Linked DNA regions of Homo sapiens: all the other regions are linked to region 1. The links are contacts of gene promoters, found by promoter capture Hi-C in blood cells and fetal thymus (Javierre and others, 2016). All regions are on one chromosome and are shown on one strand. The core of a region is centred on a gene start or on the middle of the fragment in contact, and the rest is flanking DNA. Distances in the headings are between cores, read along the strand shown.

What was found. Contacts are between HindIII fragments. The CHiCAGO score rates a contact against its expected background, and 5 or more counts as called.
Region 2: a fragment that was not itself captured here is called in contact with the fragment with the promoter of PLEKHG3 in region 1 in 1 of 17 cell types (neutrophils); the score reaches 6.0 in neutrophils.
Region 3: a fragment that was not itself captured here is called in contact with the fragment with the promoter of PLEKHG3 in region 1 in 1 of 17 cell types (neutrophils); the score reaches 6.8 in neutrophils.
Region 4: a fragment that was not itself captured here is called in contact with the fragment with the promoter of PLEKHG3 in region 1 in 1 of 17 cell types (neutrophils); the score reaches 6.1 in neutrophils.
Region 5: a contact is called between a fragment that was not itself captured here and the fragment with the promoter of PLEKHG3 in region 1, in 2 of 17 cell types (neutrophils and erythroblasts). The highest score is 7.3, in neutrophils.

The regions. Positions count from the first base shown.
Region 1 is chr14:64,702,969-64,705,812 of GRCh38, forward strand. PLEKHG3 (pleckstrin homology and RhoGEF domain containing G3) reads left to right here and starts at 1,456. Exons shown (of 17, transcript NM_001308147.2): 1 at 1,456-1,736. RefSeq lists an enhancer at 1-236. The HindIII fragment of the contact is 3,721 bases long and covers 1-2,370 here.
Region 2 is chr14:65,085,757-65,088,600 of GRCh38, forward strand. The region is part of intron 3 of MAX (MYC associated factor X); the gene reads right to left. Among named protein-coding and RNA genes, the nearest start is that of MAX-AS1, 2.7 kb to the right of the region's middle. The HindIII fragment of the contact is 7,059 bases long and covers 1-2,844 here.
Region 3 is chr14:65,051,511-65,054,354 of GRCh38, forward strand. It overlaps CHURC1-FNTB (CHURC1-FNTB readthrough), which reads left to right. Exons shown (of 14, transcript NM_001202559.1): 12 at 1,728-1,839. It overlaps FNTB (farnesyltransferase, CAAX box, subunit beta), which reads left to right. Exons shown (of 12, transcript NM_002028.4): 10 at 1,728-1,839. It also overlaps a transcript of MAX not described here. Among named protein-coding and RNA genes, the nearest start is that of MIR4706, 8.2 kb to the left of the region's middle. The HindIII fragment of the contact is 3,610 bases long and covers 1-2,844 here.
Region 4 is chr14:65,019,432-65,022,275 of GRCh38, forward strand. The region is part of intron 6 of CHURC1-FNTB (CHURC1-FNTB readthrough); the gene reads left to right. All of the region lies in intron 4 of FNTB (farnesyltransferase, CAAX box, subunit beta), which reads left to right. It also overlaps a transcript of MAX not described here. Among named protein-coding and RNA genes, the nearest start is that of MIR4706, 24 kb to the right of the region's middle. RefSeq lists a silencer at 590-639. The HindIII fragment of the contact is 2,514 bases long and covers 234-2,747 here.
Region 5 is chr14:64,976,540-64,979,383 of GRCh38, forward strand. The region is part of intron 3 of CHURC1-FNTB (CHURC1-FNTB readthrough); the gene reads left to right. Among named protein-coding and RNA genes, the nearest start is that of RAB15, 5.6 kb to the left of the region's middle. The HindIII fragment of the contact is 3,747 bases long and covers 1-2,844 here.

The sequences.
Region 1 (2,844 bases), core at 206-2,705:
AGAAAGCATAAACAAAAAAAGGTGAAAGCCTGAGGTTGGAAGGGGTGACCACAAGTCCTGGAAGGCCAGAAGGGGGACTTGTCACTTCTCCCCTGGCCGGCGGGGTCTAGCGGAGCCCCAACTAAGTTGATCTATTTCCGAGCCCCTCTTCTGCAATCTCTGCTCTCACCTTCACGGTCCGCGAGTCTGGGGCTCTGCAAGCCTCCAACACACCCTCCCTCCCTAAGGAATGTGGGCCCCGCTTTCTGGGCCTGCCAGACCGAGCGCCTACCGCTTCCTCCGCAGGCAGGAGCCGGGACGCTGCCTTCACCCCACCCTCCGCCAGGATCCAGTTTCAAAGTCACCTGAAAGCCATTTCCTTCCGCGCCTGCCCCGCCTCTCCCCTCCCAGTAGATCACCTGGAGCTTGCATTTGCCCAGAGCAGCATTTTGGGGCGGGCGCTTGTTTTGTTTTAAATGATACCTCTAGAAATCGTTTGCTGTACACCTGGATAACAAATATACCCCGTGGTTCTAATATCAGCGTCCTATTCCTCCTCCCAAGGAACTAGTGATAGCGCCTAACCAGTGGGCGTTGTTCCTCTTCCGGAGCCCCACTCTGGGCTTCCCTCCTCCGGGCTTGTTGTTCTTCAGGATCTTTACTGATGAATTATTATGGGTTTTTGGATTTATGCTCTTGCTCAAAATGTATTGAATGTCTCTGTCCCCCATCCTCACCCCTTGCCCCCCAGTTTCCAGGTGTGTACCTTTCCATGCATACACGGTCATATACAGAGACATAAAGACAAACGGTTCTCTTTGTTTTATAAAAACGGGTCCTCTATCATCCAGGTTTCTGTGTTTTATTTTTCCTATTTAACAGTTCCTTGTGGAGTTGCCTTCACGTTGTCTCCTTTATCTCTTTCCCGTCAGCTTCTCAGAGGTCTGCATTTACCACTGTAAAGCGTCACAGGGACCGAGTTATGGTGAGGAATTCAAGACATGCCTTTCTGACTTGGAAAAGCGGACACGGCCGGCTCTGGTAGGATTAGGATCCCCAGATCGATCCCGGCTGGTCACTCACTTGGGAAAGCCCTCAGCCCCCTTCGCAGGGCCCGGTGTTCCCTGTCCATACAAGGGGTACGTTCTGGCAGTCCATGCTGTCTCGGGAGGCGGTGATAGCAGGTCTGTGACACCAGGGTGACCCCACCACGTGCGTCTTGGTATCCTAGAGCATCTAGGCTGCCCGGGGGTGCGCGCTCATCACCCTGCGGGCGTTAATCGTTAACCGCGCCCAGGCCTCGCCGCCGCCGCAGCCTTACCCCGGCTCTGGCTCGCCGCGCCGCGAAGGTTGCCCCGGCCCCCGCAGAGCCGCCAATTGCTGGACTGCAGCCGCGAGCTGGAGTCTCCACCCACAGGAAAAATTCCTGGCCCGCCCCTCCCTCGCTCCCTCGCTCCCTCGCTCCCTCGCTCCCTCGCTCCCTCGCTCCCTCGCTCCCTCCTGCCCTCCCGCTGCAGCTCCGGCTCCGCTCGACTTCCTGCCGGGCGCTGGCAAGCCGCGCGCTGCCTGGGGTCTCCGGGGGCCGCGCTTGCAGCTGGCCGAGTCCGGGCCAGCTGAGGGGCTGGCGGTGGGCGGGAGCGGTCGGCGGCCTCAGCCCCTTCAGAGAGCGACTTTCAAACTCGCGCCCGCGTCGCGGCAGCACCTGGGCAGCCCCGCACGCCGTGCGCGTCCCGAGCCCGCGGGGCAGCTACCGCTCGGTGAGTGTCCCCTGATTCTCCTCTCTCCCCTCTTATCTCCCTGCATTAGGCTGAGCGGCGGTGCCGGCAGTCACGCTGGGGCCCCAGTCCCTTCGCGGCCCCCGTGCCAGCCCCCTGCGGGGTGAGGACCGGGGCGACCGAGGAGGGCCTGGAACTGTGTTGGCTGCTTCCCGGGCCACCCTGCCGCAGAGTGCGCGAGCGCAGGAGGGTCGTATGGGGAGACTTTTTCTGTCTTTTTTTCCCTCCACTCCGGAAACAAAAGGGGCAAATGCGCCGGGCGGCTCCAGAGAGGCTCAGTTTGAAATCCAGGAAGCCCGCGAGGCCGCGCGCGCCCGAGGGCTGGTGTTTGGCTGGAGCTGTGGGCCTGGCGGGTGGACCCTTCTGCGCGAGGACCCGAGCCTCGGCTCCTGCCAGCCCCGGAGGCGCCTGCAGCCTGTTCCGGGTTGGCGCCGCACGGTGCTCGCTGTTGGGAATCTCGGCTACCTGTCCGGCAGGGAGGAGAGTGGGGGCCAGAAGCGGGGAGCGGAAAGCCCGGCCACCAGCTGCCTCGACCTCGTCCACTCCTGAAGTCGGTTTGGTTCTTCGCACCCCTACACCCAGCCCTTTGGTTTGGAAAGCCAGTATAAGGCGTGCAAGCTTAAATTTTTAAGGCGTTAAATAGCTACTTTGACTCTTCGGGGCGCCTTTGGAACACAAAAGGAAGAACGGAGGGGAGAATGGAATGGTTGGAGGCTGGAGAGGTGTGGCTTTTGGGGAGGGTGTTGTTAGAGGCCGCGAAAGAGTTTGATCCTCGAGGTCACTCGCTAATCTGTTGGCATATGTAGGTGCCTGTCCCCTGCTCTGGGGGCCCCAGCAGGAGACCCACACTGCGTTCACCTTACGGGGAACCCTGGAGTGGGGGTTCCCAGAGTCTCCCCAGCCGTGCCTCTGCACGCAGCCCAGTCACATGGCCCTTGCTCAAGAAATAATAAGCAGGGAGGGCAATGACAGTCCGGAGCGGGGGAGGGCCTCCCCGTTGAGCACATCGGCCACCTCGCCTTCAGCAGTGTGGTTTTCCGGGCCATCCTTTGTTGGACAAGGATGGGATCCTGAGTGATTAAACCCCAGC
Region 2 (2,844 bases), core at 345-2,844, 380 kb after region 1:
AGGTAGGCCTTGTGAGCAGGGCTCATCAATATGGAACCCCCAAGTCACCTGGGCAGTGTGGCTGGGGTTGGACCTTGAGAAAAGCAAAGCACTCAGATAAGCTGAGAATGAAATTCCTGGGCAAACAGAAGAGGGGTTGATATGGTTTGGCTGTGTCCCTACCCAAATCTCATCTTGAATTTAACTCCCACAATTCCCATGTGTCGGGGGAGGAACCTAGTGAGCAGTAATTGAATCATGGGGGTTGGTCTTTCCCATGTTGTTCTTGTGATAGGGAATAAATTTCGTGAGAGCTGATGGTTTTAAAAACAGCAGTTTCCCTGCACAAGTTCTCTTCGCCTGCTGCCATCCATGTAAAACGTGACTTGCTTCTCCTTGCCTTCCACCATGATTGTGAGGCCTCCCCAGCCATATGTAACTGTAAGTCATTAAACCTCTTTCTTTTGTAAATTGCCCAGTCTCAGGTATGTCTTTATCAGCAGCATGAAAATGGACTAAATGCAGTAAATTGGTACCAGTAGAGTAGGGCACTGCTGAAAAGATACCTGAAAATGTGGAAGCAACTTTGGAACTAGGTAACAGGCAGAGGTTGGAACAATTTGAAGGGCTCAGAAGAAGACAGAAAAATGTGGGAAAGTTTCAAACTTCCTAAGGACTTGTTGAATGGCTTTGCCCAAAATGCTGATAATGATATGGACAATAAAGTCCAGGCTGAGGTGGTCTCAGATGGAGATGAGGAACTTGTTGAGAACTAGAGCAAAGGTGACTCCTGTTACGTTTCAGCAAAGAGATTGGCAGCATTTTGCCCCTACGCTAGAGATAAGTGGAACTTTGAACTTCACAGAGATGATTTAGGGTATCTGGAGGAAGAAATTTCTAAGCAGCAAAGCATTCAAGAGGTGACTTGGGTGCTGTAAAAGGCATTCAGTTTTATAAGAGAAGCAGAGCATAAAAGTTCAGAAAATTTGTAGCCTGACAATGTGATAGAAAAGAAAATCCCATTTTCTGAGAAGAAATTCAAGCCAGCTGCAGAGATTTGCATAAGTAATGAGAAGCCGAATGTTAATCCCCAAGACAATGGGGAAAATGTCTCCAGGGCATGTCAGAGATCTTCACAGCAGCTGTTCCCATCACAGACCCAGAGGCCTAGGAGGAAAAACTGGTCTTGTGGGCTGGGCCCAGGGTCCACAGGTTGTATGCAGCCTAGGGACTTGGTGCCCTGCATCCCGGCCACTCCAGTCGTGGCTGAAAGGGCCCAATGCAGAGCTCAGGTTGCGGCTTCAGAGGGTGCCAGCCCCAAGCCTTGGCAGCTTCCTCATGGTATTGAGCCTGGGAGTGAACAGAAGTCAAGAATTGGGGTTTGGGAACCTCTGCCTAGATTTCAGAGGATGGAGTATGGAAACACCTGTATGTCCAGGGAGAAGTTTGCTGAAGGGACAGGGCCCTCATGGAGGACCTCTGCTACGGCAGTGCAGACAGGAAATGTGGGGTCAGAGCCCCCACACAGTCTCTACTGGGGCCCTCTCTAGTGGAGCTGTGAGAAGAGTGCCACCATCCTGCAGACCCCAGAATGGTAGATCCACTGACTGACATCTTGCACTGTGCACCTGGAAAAGCTGCAGACACTCAATGCCAGCCTGTGAAAGCAGCCAGGAAGGAGGCTGTACCTTGCAAAGCCACAAGGGTAGAGCTATGCAAGACCAAAGGAACCCACCTTTTGTATCAGCATGACCTCTATGTGAGACATGGAGTCAAAGGAGATCATTACAGGGCTTTTAGATTTGACTGCCCTGCTGGATTTTGGACTTGCATGAGGCCTGTAGCCCCTTTTTTTGACCGATTTCTCCCATTTGGAATGGCTGTGTTTATCCAATGCCTGTACCCCCACTCTATCTAGGAAGTAACTAACTTGCTTTTGATTTTACAGGCTCATAGGCAGAAAGGACTTGTCTTGTCCCAGATGAGACTTTGCACTGTGGACTTCTGAGTTAATGCTGAAATGAGTTAAGACAAGGCACGATTGGTTTTGAAATGTGAGGACATGAGATTTGGGAGGGGCCAGGAGCAGAATAATATAGTTTGGCTGTGTCTCCACCCAAATCTCATCTTGAATTGTAATTCCCATGTGTTGTGGCAGGAACTCGGTGGGAGGTAATTGAATCACGGGGACAGGTCTTTCCCATGCTGTTCTCGTGATAGTGAATAAGTCTTGCAAGATCTGATGGTTTTAAAAACAGGAGTTTCCCTGCACAAGCTCTCTCTCTTTGCCTGCTGCCATCCATGTAAGACATGACTTGCTCCTCCTTGCCTTCGCCATGATTGTGAGGCTTCCTTCCAGCCACGTGGAACTGTAAGTCCACTAAACCTCCTTCTTTTGTAAATTGCCCAGTCTCAGGTATGTCTTTATCAGCAGCACGAAAACGGACTAATACAAGGGTGTATAGTAACTGGAAGGTTAATGTCAGGAAGGAGGCGAAAAAGCAGGTAGGTAAGCTGGGTATCTTATTTACAGAACATGGAATACCAGTCCTTACCTAAATGGGCAATGAAAAGCCCTTGGAGGTTTTCAGCAGCATGCAAATAATTTATAAGAAATTAAATGCATTTACAATTGCTGAGCCTGGAGCCTAAGGGAGACTTGGGCAACTATGGGCAACAATTTAAGATGTAGAAACTTTAAAAAGATAATTGCCCAAGTTGGAGTCTGACTAGCTAATATAACCTTAATGAGTAATGAGGAGAAGTGGATAGGGCTATAGTTTACATTTCATTTAAACGACAATCCCTCTAGCAGCTCAGATATGCTATAGACATAGGTTACCGAATGAACTGTCAGCCTTAAAC
Region 3 (2,844 bases), core at 232-2,731, 350 kb after region 1:
TGAGGCAGGACAATCGCTTGAACCCGGGAGGCGGAGGTTGCAGTGAGCCGAGATCGTGCCATTGCCCTCCAACCTGGGCAACAGAGTGAGACTCTGTCTCAAAAAAGAAAAAAAAAAAGGAAATATTCAACAGTTTAATATTTTGCTTCAATCTCTTTATAGACTGTATCATAAACTTTTCATTTTTATTTTTAGAAATCTTTTCCCCCGTTTTTCTTTTTTGCTATTTTCTCCAAAATGGGAAAGGTTATTGATACCATAAACTTTTATAATTTTCACCATAGGAATTTTTTTTTTTTTTTGAGATGGAGTCTCGCTGTGTCGCCCAGGCTGGAGTGCAGTGGTGTGATCTCAGCTCACTGCAAACTCCGCCTCCTGGGTTCACGCCATTCTCCTGCCTCAGCCTCCTGAGTAGCTGGGACTACAGGCGCCCACCACCATGTCCGGCTAATTTTTTTGTATTTTTAGTAGAGACAGGGTTTCACCGTGTTAGCCGGGATGGTCTCGATCTCCTGACCTCGTGATCAACCCCCCTCAGCCTCCCAAAGTGCTGGGATTACAGGCATAAGCCATCGTGCCTGGCCCACCATAGGAATTTATATACTGACATATATATAAGATTTTTAGCTCAGTTCTTTTTATGATACAGTTACCTTATATGTCCACTTAATGAAATACTATATGGCTATTCACAGTGATGGCTATGCAGATTATGTAATAGAATAGAAAATTTATGCCTATAGTGGTATAAGTGAAAAACATAAGCTACACAGTTATAATAACTAGGTAGAAAAACGCATAGAACCAAAAAGACTGGAAGAAAGAACAATTAGCTTTCAGGTGCCATTTACCAATTGTTGGGCATCTTTTTTTTAAAAATGATTTATTGTCAGGCATCTTTTAGCCCAGGTATCAAAATATAAAATTGACCAAGGACTTAGTGTACATCCTATATGTATATATATTTTTAATCGATTTCTATGCAGATGTTTCTGCACACCTGTCCGTGATTTGTCCCTCCTTCCCACTTGATAACTGTGTGGCCCACAGAATTCTTTGACCATAGTGATTGGACTTCAGAGTGAAGAAGTCCAGTTGCTTGTCAGTACCTTAGTAGTATTACCAGAATACCCAGTTTTTGCTAGGGTATCATATGATGCAGGAGGGCAGTTACTAGTAATGTTTCTTAGGTAAATTCTTTGAGCTGAGAGACAAGTTAGAGAATTCCCTTTGGAGATCAATTAAATTTAGGCTTAGAAAAGTAGAAGAAACAGACTTTATTACCCATTAAGAGTTCTCTGAGCTAATCAGTCTGGTTAACAAGTTATAGAGATATGCTAGAGGGAATGTCTCTTGAAGTCCAGGGTAGAGTTATGGACCAAGTTGGGAGCAGCTACCGAGGTCAGTCTGGGAAGGTAAGCTAAACAGCTAGGCTGGTTCACTGCCTGCCAGAGATGTGGTTGAGGATCACCATCCACGTTAACAGGGTGCATTTCAAGAAAGTGAAAGTGCCACTTTGAATTGCTGCTCTTTGACACATGTCAAAGTTCAGGAGAAGGGACATGCTGTGCGTAGGACATGGGGAAGATAGCAGTTGTACCAAGAATGAATGGAAGAGGAAGGGGAGCAGGAAACCTTGACTATTCCCCCAGGTGAGAAAGTGGAATTAGGTCATTGATACTTGGCTGGATCTGCCGGGCCCTTACTGACCCTTTGCCCTTCAACAGGTGACCCTGCCCTTAGCATGAGCCACTGGATGTTCCATCAGCAGGCCCTGCAGGAGTACATCCTGATGTGCTGCCAGTGCCCTGCGGGGGGGCTTCTGGATAAACCTGGCAAGTGAGTGTTTTCTCTCTGGGGAGGGAAGGGAGAGGGGAGGAGAGAGCAGAGGGGCGTGCACCTCAGGCCTACTCAGAGCCAGATCTCAAGAGCAGAGGTGTCACCTTCAGCACCTGCATAGCGCTAGGTTGTATGGGAAAAAGCACCCAGTTGGGAGCACCCCTTGAGGCCATTGATCTTGGCACCTCCAGCTGCCCGTCTTGTCCCCCAGCCTGCATGCAACCCCCTCCCCCAGACAGGGAAACAGATTGCTGGGTAGATAACTCTTCTTTTTTTTAAAAAAAACAAAAAAAAACTGATCTAAATAGAATAGGATACAGGATTTTAAAACCCCTCAGTGTTGTAAACAGAGACTGTAATCATGACAACTATTATAGAGTGGATTAAATGATTAAGCTCAAATCTGAGATGGCTTATGTGTTAGAAAAAGGGAAATAAAATAAGTCCTCTCACCTTTGTTACCCACCCTCTGTCTTCCCCCATCCCAGCACACGTCCTGCTGCTCTTGGCATCCAGGGGAAGGCCTGGTCCCACAATGTATCAGGAAGGATGTGGCCCATTTCTAGATATTTAGGTATTTTTCTAGAGAAGTGTATCAATTTATCATTAGTACTGCCCCTGGAGAGCCCTTTCCAGAAGACAGCTGGAGAGACTGACTTTAAAATTACAGTTTCCTTTAATAGTTTAAGGTAAAAAAAGAAAGAAAAGAAAAAAAATACAGTTCCCACTGCTGGGCAGGGCTGGAGGATGGGGCTTTTATTTTATTGTATTTTACTTTTTTGAGACAGGGTCTCACTCTGTCACCCAGGCTGGAGTGCAGTGTCACAATCATGACTCACTGCAGCCTTCACCTCTTGGGCTCGAGTGATCCTCCTGCTTCAGCCTCCCAAGTAACTGGAATTACAGGCATCGGCCACCACACCTAGCTAATTTTTAATTTTTTGTAGAGACGGGGTCTCCCATGTTGCCCAAGTTGGTTTTGAACTCCTGGCCTCAAACCGTTCT
Region 4 (2,844 bases), core at 241-2,740, 320 kb after region 1:
AGCCGAGATCACACCACTGCACTCCAGCCTGGGTAACAGAAGGAGACTGTTGTCTCAAAAAACAAACAAACAAAACATTTTTTTTAAGCTTACTTGCATTTTCTGAAGTTTCTACAATGATCTTTTATTATTTTGTAATTAAAAAAGGAATGGTTTAAAAATAAGCTGATTTGTCCTTATTTCAAAAACCACTTGACAGTTAATGAGAGTTTCTGCTTCACAGATGCCTTAAAAGCTTTACCTGTGGTTCTTCTACGCATTGATTTAGTGAACTTTTAAACATTTCTTAGACTTCCCAATAATGTATTTTGCTTTGTGCCTAGGAGGTGGTTACTTCTAGGTGCAGAAAACACTTGTTATGAACAAAGCCTACTGGCTCTGACCCATAAGGAAATAGATTATTTTTAGTAAGATACAGATAAATCTTAAGGACTTCTATATAAATAGAAGATTTTTTTTAGACTAGCTGAAATAGAATATTGCCTTTTTATTTATCTTGCACAGGGAAATGAAATGCTTTGAAATGCGTTCAGTTTTCTTTCTTCATACAAATATATTAAGGTGACCTAGAGTCAAAAAGTCTAGCTCTGCAGTTTTATTATTTTCCTGCCTTCTTTTCCCCTGCATGTAACACACACGCCCCCTACACTTACACAAAGGTTTCTCTTTCCTATTTTGTTCACTGCTGTGCTTCTATTTGTTTAGGGAACAATATGATAAGCTGGGTTCCCTCTAGTGGACAAAATACTTTTGTCAGCTGCTATGACCGCTGACCAAAGCCAGCAAGGCGAGGTTGTTACTGCTGGTATCAGAGGTTTCAAGAATAATGTATTCATAGCCTGGAATGTTTTCTTTATTTTTGGTAGAGACAGTGCCTTGCTGTGTTGCCTGGGCTGGTCTCAATCTCCTGGGCTCAATTGATCCTCCTGCCTTAGCCTCCCAAAACACTGGGATTATAGGCGTGAGCCACCATGCCCAGTCCATAGGTAGGACTTCAGCTTGCCTCTTTTTTTTTTGAGAGTCTCGCTCTGTTGCCCAGACTGGAGTGCAGTGGCACGATCTTGGCTCACTGCAACCTCCACCTCCTGGGTTCAAGCAATTCTCCTGCCTCGGCCTCCCGAGTAGCTGGGACTACAGGCATACAGGCGGGAGCCACCACACCCGGCTAATTTTTGTATTTTTAGTAGAGATTGGGTTTTACCATGTTGGCCAAGTTGGTCTCGAACTCCTGACCTCAGGTGATCCACCTGCCTCAGCCTCCCAAAGTGCTGGGATTACAGGCATGAGCCACCGCGCCCGGCCTTTTTTTTTTTTTTTTGAGACGGAGTTTTGCTCTTGTTGCCAGGCTGTAGTGCAGTGGCATGATCTCAGCTCACTGCAACCTCCACCTCCCGGGTTCAAGTGATTCTCCTGCCTCAGCTTCCCAAGTAGCTAGGATTACAGGGGTGTGCCACCACGCCCAGCTAATTTTTGTATTTTGTAAAGACAGGCTTTCAACATGTTGGCCAGGCTGGTCTTGAACTCCTGACCTCAGGTGATACACCTGTCTTGGCTTCCCAAAGTGTTGGGATTACAGATGTGAGCCACCGCACCCGGCCTAGCTTCCCTCTTTTAAGAGGTTATATGCACACATTTATATGTGTTTATCTAAAATGAATTAATATTTTGGAACTAGACTAAGTACATTTGCTTTGCTTAATGGTTTTGGCACTGAAGGAAGCATCCTCTAATGAGAATCCCATTCTTTGTTACTGAAAGCAGCTTCAGTGAAACAGAGCAAAATAAAATTCACAGGGAGACCATCGCACTGTTAAAGTTATGTTTTTAGCTTCTGTAAGATTTAAAAATTGCCTTTAACTTAAAAACCATTTTAGGACATTTCAGCTTGTAAGATTTTTCCAAAGATAAATTCAAATTTTGCTATTTCAGTGTTTTATCCTTTCCCTTTCAAAAGGTTGTTAGTAGCTTATCCCCGGAATAGCCCCTTAAATATTTTTCCTTTTAATTTTTAAGTCTAGTTTGTATGTTTCCTTACCTTTCAGTGAGGACACCATATCTAGGCCTTTGTCTCCTGGGCATTTTTCCTGGCCAGGTGCTGTTGGCACCTGGTGGGTGCAGGTCAGAGGTGCTGCTAAATATCCTCTACAGGACGGTCCCTGCACCAAAGAATTACTGAGCCCCAGTGTCAACAGTTGAGAAACTCTGCTCTAAAGTAGCCAACTTTTTTTTCCTTTGAGGCAGTCTTGCTGTGTCCCCCAGGCTGGAGGGCACTGGTGCAATCTCAGCTCACTGCAACTTCCACCTTCCGGGTTCAAGCGATTCTCGTGCTTCAGCCTCCCAAGCAGCTGGGACTACGGGCGCATGCCACTATGCCTGGCTAATTTTTGTATTTTTAGTAGAGATGGGGTTTCACCATGTTGGCCAGGCTGGTCTCAAACTCCTGGCCTTAAGTGATCCGCCCACGTCGGCCTCCCAAAGTGCTAGGATTATAGGCGTGAGCCACTGCGCCCGGCCTATAGTAGCCAACTTTCGACCTGACCATTCTTCCAGAACAGCAGCCATCCAGAGACTTGCCGGTGCTTGATGAAGAGTCAAATAACACGTCTGACTCTGTGAGCAGCAGAGGCCACCCGGAATCAACAAGAGATGCTGCCCGTCTTCACCTGTCCATTGTCATATTCTACCTAGGGAAGGAGATTTCCTCTTCACTATATCAAGCTGAAGCTGTTTTAGTTAGTACGAGAACAAGCTTGATGTGATGCCAGCTCATGCATCTTGCATTTACATCCCCTCCTAAGCCGTTCTGCCCATGGATGACTGTTCCTATTTCCAAAGCTGTAATCT
Region 5 (2,844 bases), core at 155-2,654, 270 kb after region 1:
GACTAGTGGAGACAACAAAGTTCACTTTAACCCGGTCTTTGTAAATGAAATACCTAAATTCCATCCCCTTACCTCAGTCACTCAGTGGAACATTTTGGCATCCTCCCCATTTGTGGTCAACTTGGACTGGGGCACATTTCAGTAGAACTGGGAGACATCTGAGGAATGGTTGCTGAACATCTTTTCCACTAGAATCCTCCTAGAATCAGTCTCTCAATTATGTGATACTGATTCTTCAACCAGGGAGACAAGTGCCTGCCCCCATCCACCCCATCCCCACCCCAGCCACACTGAGCATGCACCCAAAGGCACCACTGTGGGACCTGCCATAGCAACAGCTGAACAGCTGGAGAGTTGCACCAATAGGCAGTCCATCACCAAGACTCAACGCGGCTGGACCATGGGGCTCCCCGTTAGTGAAACACCCGCCTCTTCTAGACTTACCCTGTGTTTCCTACTCTGGGGGACTGTTAGTGATGTGCCCGCGGTGCAGAAGGATTTCCTCCTTACCTCGTGATTGAAAGAAACAGGACACATCCCCTCTACCACGGTCTCAGTACTGTCCTCCATTCACATGCTTTTTCTTTGTTTTCCCCTGACTAAATAGAGAATGGAGGAAAGATACTCAAATGACAAGGAAAGAGGGGAGGAGGCAAATTATCAGAGACACGTGCATTTGAGGGCTGGGAACCACAGGAAACAATTCTGATGGTAATTGATGTTGACACAAAATGACCCACAGTACCATTTCAGGTTGTCCTTAGTGTCCTGGCCACCACCTTCATGACTGCATCAGTTTTCTAGGGATGCCATAACAAAGTACCAGAGACTGGGTGGCTTAAACAACAGGAATTTGGCTGGGCGTGGTGGCTCACGCCTGTAATCCCAGCACTTAGGGAGCCCAAGGCGGGCAGGTCATGAGGTCAAGAGTTCGAGACCAGCCTGGCCAACATGGTGAAACCCCGTCTCTACTAAAAATACAAAAATTAGCCAGGCATGGTGGCCCATGCCTGTAATCCCAGCTACTTGGAAGGATGAGACAGGAGAATCGCTTGAGCCCAGGAGGCGGAGGTTGCAGTGAGCCAAGATCACGCCATTGCACTCCAGCCTGGGCAACAGAACAAGACTCCGTCTTAAAACAAACAAACAAACAAAAACACACACAAAAACACCAGGAATTTATTTCCCACAATTGTGGCAGTCAGAAGTATGAGATGAAGGTGTCAGCAGGGTTGGTTTCTCATGAGGGATCTCCTTGGCTGTAGATGGCTGTCTTCACGTTCACATGGTGTTCCACCTGTGCCTATCAATGTCCTAATCTCTTTTTTTTTTTTTTTGAGACGGAGTCTCACTCTGTCACCCAGGCTGGAGTGCAGTGGTGCGATCTCAGCTCACTGCAAGTTCCGCCTCTCGGGTTCACACCATTCTCCTGCCTCAGCCTCCTGAGTAGCTGGAACTACAGGCGTCCGCCACCATGTCCGGCTAATTTTTTTGTATTTTTAGTAGAGACGGGGTTTCACCCTGTTAGCCAGGATGGTCTCGATCTCCTGACCTTGTGATCCGCCCGCCTCAGCCTCCCAAAGTGCTGGGATTACAGGCGTGAGCCACCGCGCCCGGCCGACATTGTTCTTTATAAGATCTGCCTTGCAGGAAGGATCAGAGAGAGTGCCTGCCAACCAAAGACAAAGAGACGCCATACCCCAGGTCTCTCACATATCAGGACTTATAGGGTCTCCTTTTTTACCTAACTATACACTTAAGACCCCTCTAAGACTGCCTTGTAGACAGCAGGGGAAGAAGGGCTCTGTCAACAGGACAGGGGAGAGTTGACCCTGTAGTTCTAAATTAGCAGACTTGAAAAAGATTGTTTGAAAGGAGTAGTAATAATATACATTGGAAAGATGTCACTAAATCTGTCCAGAAAATTATTTTGAATCTACAAAGGGATACCGTTTGTCCAGTGGAGTGAAACACTGAAAGAGACCTCTTTGTTAATTGAGGTTTTTAACTTCTAGAACATGTGGCATGACGTTCTTTTGATTATGGAGTGTAGGGGTGGGTTGCCCCTACACACCTGTGGGTGTTTCTCGTAAGGTGGGACGAGAGATTTGGAAAAGAAAAAGACACAGAGACAAAGTATAGAGAAAGAAATAAGGGGACCCGGGGAACCAGCGTTCAGCATATGGAGGATCCCGCCAGCCTCTGAGTTCCCTTAGTATTTATTGATCATCTGTGGGTGTTTCTCGAAGAGGGGGATGTGTCAGGGTCACAAGACAATTGTGGGGAGAGGGTCAGCAGACAAACACGTGAACAAAGGTCTTTGCATCATAGACAATGTAAAGGATTAAGTGCTGTGCTTTTAGATATGCATACACATAAATATCTCAATGCTTTACAAAGCAGTATTGCTGCCCGCAGGTCCCACCTCCAGCCCTAAGGCGGTTTTTCCCTATCTCAGTAGATGGAGCATACAATCGGGTTTTATACCGAGACATTCCATTGCCCAGGGACAGGCAGGAGACAGATGCCTTCCTCTTGTCTCAACTGCAAGAGGCATTCCTTCCTCTTTTACTAATCCTCCTCAGCACAGACCCTTTACGGGTGTCGGGCTGGGGGACGGTCAGGTCTTTCCCTTCCCACGAGGCCATATTTCAGACTATCACATGGGGAGAAACCTTGGACAATACCTGGCTTTCCTATGCAGAGGTCCCTGCGGCCTTCCGCAGTGTTTGTGTCCCTGGGTACTTGAGATTAGGGAGTGGTGATGACTCTTAAGGAGCATGCTGCCTTCAAGCATCTGTTTAACAAAGCACATCTTGCACCACCCTTAATCCATTTAACTCT